2 separate regions of the Homo sapiens genome follow, and region 2 is linked to region 1. The links are contacts of gene promoters, found by promoter capture Hi-C in blood cells and fetal thymus (Javierre and others, 2016). All regions are on one chromosome and are shown on one strand. The core of a region is centred on a gene start or on the middle of the fragment in contact, and the rest is flanking DNA. Distances in the headings are between cores, read along the strand shown.

The links. Contacts are between HindIII fragments. The CHiCAGO score rates a contact against its expected background, and 5 or more counts as called.
Region 2: a fragment that was not itself captured here is called in contact with the fragment with the promoter of NSD3 in region 1 in 1 of 17 cell types (M2 macrophages); the score reaches 7.5 in M2 macrophages.

What each region holds. Positions count from the first base shown.
Region 1 is chr8:38,380,844-38,383,543 of GRCh38, forward strand. It overlaps NSD3 (nuclear receptor binding SET domain protein 3), which reads right to left and starts at 1,428. Exons shown (of 24, transcript NM_023034.2): 1 at 956-1,428. It also overlaps a transcript of LETM2 not described here. RefSeq lists enhancers at 1-485, 776-1,566 and silencers at 1,215-1,614, 1,645-1,794, 1,985-2,334. The HindIII fragment of the contact is 5,398 bases long and covers 1-2,700 here.
Region 2 is chr8:36,854,165-36,856,864 of GRCh38, forward strand. The region is part of intron 18 of KCNU1 (potassium calcium-activated channel subfamily U member 1); the gene reads left to right. Among named protein-coding and RNA genes, the nearest start is that of KCNU1, 71 kb to the left of the region's middle. The HindIII fragment of the contact is 1,162 bases long and covers 771-1,932 here.

The DNA.
Region 1 (2,700 bases), core at 178-2,677:
GGCAGCAAACATGGCTGCCCCTGCCCCCTTTAAATCGAAATAATCTTCACTCCCTCCCCAAAACCATCAAATTATGGCCATGTCTCTCCCTGCCTCCCTTCCATAACACAAACACATCGCCTTCTCCCTCAAAACAGTAAAACCCACACCTCCCCATTTCACAACAATCACAATCCCATAACCACCAGCTTCTCTATTCTCTAGCCTTGAAAGAAAGACACAGAATACACACAAATACAGGAACAAAAGGCCTCCCTTCCTAACACTTTAACGACCTCCATCCCCTTCTCTTCCTCCCACTCTGACGCTAAGTCGATCGTTCTCATCCCTGTCATCATTCAGTTAATTTCCTTCCCTAGCCCAATCCTGTCTTCCAGTTTCCTGCGTCTATTTCCCATTCTCCTATTGCAGCCTGCCTCATCCCCTTTCCTAATCCACCTTTTCCTTCACTTCCATTCCTCATTTCTCCCTTCATTCCCATAAAATGCCCCATTTCTCCAGCAAATTTATCCCCTTCTCCCAGACTCTTCTGGTTCCTACACTCCATCCCCAAATCTCCCTATTTATCAGTCCACCCAGGTCTGTAATCTCCATGCAACTCTTCTCCCCTTTCCCTGCCCCTCCCCGATCCATCCTTATCCCCGCCCCCATCCCACTTTCCCAATTCCCAGCTCAGCGCCACTCCGACTCCCATCCCACTCCCCACCTCCCCTGGCCCACCCCCCAATTCCCTCCACACCCCCCACCTTGCCATCTGCTCCTCCGTCAGGACTCCCCTCGAGCCCTTTCAGGCCACCCGCTTCCCCTTCCATTCCTCCTGGGGTCTGGCGCTCCATCCCTAGGTCGCCCCCTCCCCGTCGTTCCCTCCTCAGCCCTTCCTAGCACTACACACGCGCGCGCGCGCACACACACACACACACACACACACACATACACACACGCACACGCACTTTACCTTCAGTTTGTTCCATTCTAACCCCCCGGCCGTGTCAGTGCGATCACAGGAGAGACACGGAGGCCCGGAGTGGGGCTGGGGTGCGGGCAGCCGCTGGGGCCGCGCGAGGAGGAGGCGGAACCGAGCTAGGCCGCATGAAATCCCCGGGCTAGATTTTCCCCGCGCCGGACGCCTCTGCCATGGCGGCCGGCACTGAGGAGGGCCACGGCCGGGCCGGGCCGGGCGTGCTGCGGGAAGAGGAAGGCTCGGGAGGTGGGATGGGAAGGGGAGGCCGAGGGACGGGGGTCGCCGCGCCGCCGCTGCTGCCAGAGAGGAGCCTGCGGCTGGCAGCCCGGCCTGGGTAGCACGGTCCTCGGCGCTCGGCTCGGAATTCGCACGCCTCTCCGCGGCGACCTGTGCACAGCCCCCTCGGCCTCCGCCTCCGTGCTGGCCGCCGCCGCCGCCTCTCCCGCCGCCGCCGCGCACAAAGCCCCCCCACCCCGACTCTCGGGGCGCCGCCGCCGCCAAATCCTCAGCCCCTCATTGGCCGCGGGCCGCGGCGCCTGCCGGGAAATGCAGTCCCTGGTTCGGGACGCTGGGGCTCCGGAGGAAGCGGCGAGTCGGCGGGGCGGAGGGGGCGGGAGCGCGAACCAGGAACGCCCGCGGCAGCTAGCGTCTGGACGACTAGGGAGACCGGGCGAGAGGGCCGAGGAACGAGGGACGGGGAGGGACTGTACGTGGGAGAGTGACACACAAAACACCCCGGGAAGCCGGAGGAGGCGTGGAAAGGTGGGGCCCGGGAGGTAAAACTGGGATCGGCGCGTTCAGTGAGGCTGATTAAAGAACAACGCGCAACCAGCGCCATACGGCGCTCCTCAGGGTGACTCGGCTCTCTAGCTCTTAAGGGTTAGAAGCGACCCTCGCACGGTCCCCGGTGGGTCACCGCGCGAGGGCGGGGCAGTCCAGGCGACCCCTCGGCCGTCTCCCGTCCTACGGCTGTCAGGGAAGGGCTCCGGTTCCGGTAGGGTCTGCATTTGGAAAGCCGGGGGCGATGCAAGACCGCCTTGGCGTCGTCTCCCTCTCAGCCCCGGCTGAGCTGTCGGATGGTCCCCCTCCCCCGGTTGCAAGCAGTAGGAGACCCGGCCGGCGGCGCCGGCTCGCCGAGGGAGCGCCTCGACCTCCCCGGCAGGCGCCGGCCCCGCGCGCCTCTTCCTGCTCTGCTGCGGCCCGGAGGCTTGTGGGTAACCGGGAGGACGACGTCAGCGCCCGCCGCATCCCCGGGTGCCCCCCAGCCGCGGGGGACCGCGACGGCTCCGTGACCGTCACGTGCCGGAGGCCGCGGCTGCTCGCGGCCAGACCTTCGCATCGAGGGACGTGAGGGACATTTGTCCTAGAGGGCCCAAGATAAGAACGAGAGGAAGAACCGGGAGGCAACTCTCCGTCATCCTCTAGCCCCCCGCATCCTAGGAAACGTATGGAAAACAATGGAAGGTTAAGTGTGTGCACAGTGATCTGGCCCTGCAGGAGTGTGCCGACCAGGTGATATTTCCTGGGGCCTGGTGATAAGGATTTGGAAGGTTACAGCACAGAGACGTGAACGTAAAAAGGAAACAGAGGCAGCAAGCAAATGAGGAAACCGATACTCTGTTCTGAGAATAAAGCCATTTTACCGCTAGACGTCATACTCTGTAGACGTTATAGTGCTGGATGTCTTTGGTACTATTACAAGAAATTAGATATCTCTATCTTTAAATATCACTTAAGGA
Region 2 (2,700 bases), core at 102-2,601, 1.5 Mb before region 1:
ACATTTTTGATTATGACAGGTCTCCATGTGTCAATCTCTTTAAATTTATCCTACTAGGAGTTTATTAAGCTTTTTAGTTGTGTAGATTAATGTTTTTCAACCACTTTGAGAAGTTATTGGCCATTATTTCTCAAATATTCACTCTACTCCTTTCTTTACTCTTCTCCTGGATCTTTCATTAAATCCTTTGGTACACTTGATAATGTCCCAGCGGTCCCTTAGGCTGTCTTCATTTTTCTTAATTCCTTTTTTCTTCTGTCCCTCAAACTGTATAATCTTCATTCACCTATCTTTGAGTATGCTGATTCTTTTTTTTTTTTTTGCATGCTCAAGTCTGATCTTTAGTTCCTCTTGTAAAGTTTTTATTTTAGTTCTTGTACTTTGAACTCCAAGATTTCTACTTAAAAAAATTTGTAACTATTTAATGACATTCTCTATTTTGTGAGACATCATTCTCATATTCCTTTTGGTTATTTATATATAGGTTTTTAAAGCTCTTCAAATATATTTAAATTAGCTGATTTTAAAAGTCTTTGACTAGTAAGTACAATATCTGAGCTTCTCTCAAGGATGGTGTCTATTGAGAGCCTTTTTCCTATGTATTTTTATCTTGCTTGTTTCTTTCCAAGTCTTATAACTTTTTGTTGAAAATTAGACATTACACAGGTTATAGTGTGTTATTTATGGAAATCAGATTCTCCAGTAGACTTTCCCAAAGTCTATCTCTCTGTCATTTGTGGCCATTGAATTTTCTACTCAACTTAGTGGTAAGCTTATAATTGGACAATGATTTTTGTTAAACACCTGGAACCAAGAAGTTTCTCAGTCTTTGTCAAAGGATTCTGTGTTTGTGTTGGGGCATGCCTTCAATAGTCAGCTGTAAAGTTGACAACTGTGTTTAGCCTTCATTTTCTGCTTGTATGAAACCTCAAGGTCAGTTAGAGATGAGAGCTTTGGAACTTCTCAGGCCTTTCTGCTTATGCATACAGCTTTACACAGTTCTGGGCATCTTCATTGTCATTTAGATTTCCAGTAATATTCCAGAGTTTTTCAAAGTCCCTTATAAGTAAGAAGACATTTTATTCTTCAGTTTTCCTTTTATGCTTTCATTTGGTCTTCAATTTGCCCTGCTATCTGTTGCCTCAGGCACATGTGACGTTAATATATTTGATAACACTCCCTGGGGATAGGCTTGTAGCACTAGATACATGCAAATGAGGCTGAAAAAGAAAAGCCATTCAAGTAGGGTTATGCAGGGAACCACCAGACAAGTCAAAATAATGACTCTTCTTTGGAAATAAGGCTTTTGAAGAACTGTATTTCTGCTGTACTCCCTCTAGTGCCAAGAATATGGAGTATTATGTTTTGAAAGCTATCGATGAGCTGTGGAGCTGGAGATGAAACTAGTGTAAATTAAAATAACACAAATCTTATATCTCTTACTGCTATCTATTTATTTCTCTCGACTAAATGTTTTCAAGGCTCCTGTTGGTTAGTTTCCAGAGTTCTGAAAAAAAAATAATTCTCACAAGTTTTGCCAGTTTATTCTATTTTTATGGAGGGGCGGCCTATCTCGTGTCCTTCCTCTACCTTTTATTTTATTTTTTTTCTGGTATCTTGTCTTCATTTTTTAAAGATAGTTTTCCTGGGTATAAAATTCTTGGTTGGCAGTTTATTTCAGCACTTTTCAATGACATCTTATTGCCTTCTAACCTCCATTTTTTCTGATAAGAAGTCAGCTGTTTCACATGTAAACCACATTTTTCTCGTGCTGGTTTCAAGATTTTTTGTGATGTAGGGCACAATTTAGTCCACAACAGTCACATTTTGAGGTTCTGGGTAGACACATATTAATATTTGGGGAGACAGTCTCCAATTTATTAACCCCTCTAGTGAATAATTAACATCAGTTAATGTACTTTTCAACTATAAAGCTTCTATTTTGTTCTTCTTAAAATTTGTATTTGTTTATGGATAATGTTTCTTTAGGGAGATATTGTCATCATGCTTTTATTTCTTTAATCAGGATTTCCTTCATTTCTTTCAACATATTTAGAATATTGGCTCTTAATATTTTTTCTGCTAACTCTGACATGGACTCTTGCACAGAAAGTTTCTTTTGCCTGCTTTCCCCACCCTGTGTATAGCTCATGCTTTCCTGTTAATTTTCATGTCTCATGCTTTCCTGTTACTTTGCATGTCTCATATTTTGTGTTGAAAATGGATATTGTAGATAATTATAGCAGCTCTGAAAACCAAGGCTTGTTGTTGTCACTGGTTGTTTAGTTAGTTGGCTAGTGACTTGGCTGAACTGTTTTATAAAATAAATTTCCCCTAAGTTTGAAGCTTTTGATGTTGCTCATTGGAGAGTGCAGCCTTGGACTACAGTGGTTAACAACCATTGGGCTTATAGTGGTTTTAGCAGGGCTCATTTTAATGGTCTCTTTCCCTGATCTCTATGGTAAGCTCTCCGCTTCTGTTAGTATCACACCCAGTTCCTAGACTACACTAGCAGGCTGCCTATTATTGTTTTTTATTATGCCTGAGTTATCTATTGCTCCACAGTATTACGCAATTAAATTTGGGCCCCTTTGTAAGAGTGGTTTCTAAGACCAGTCTTTGCAGTTTGTTCTGTCCCTAAGAGAACGGTTATTAACTGTACTTTTTCTGGTTCACTATGGTAAATTCTGACTTATGGTT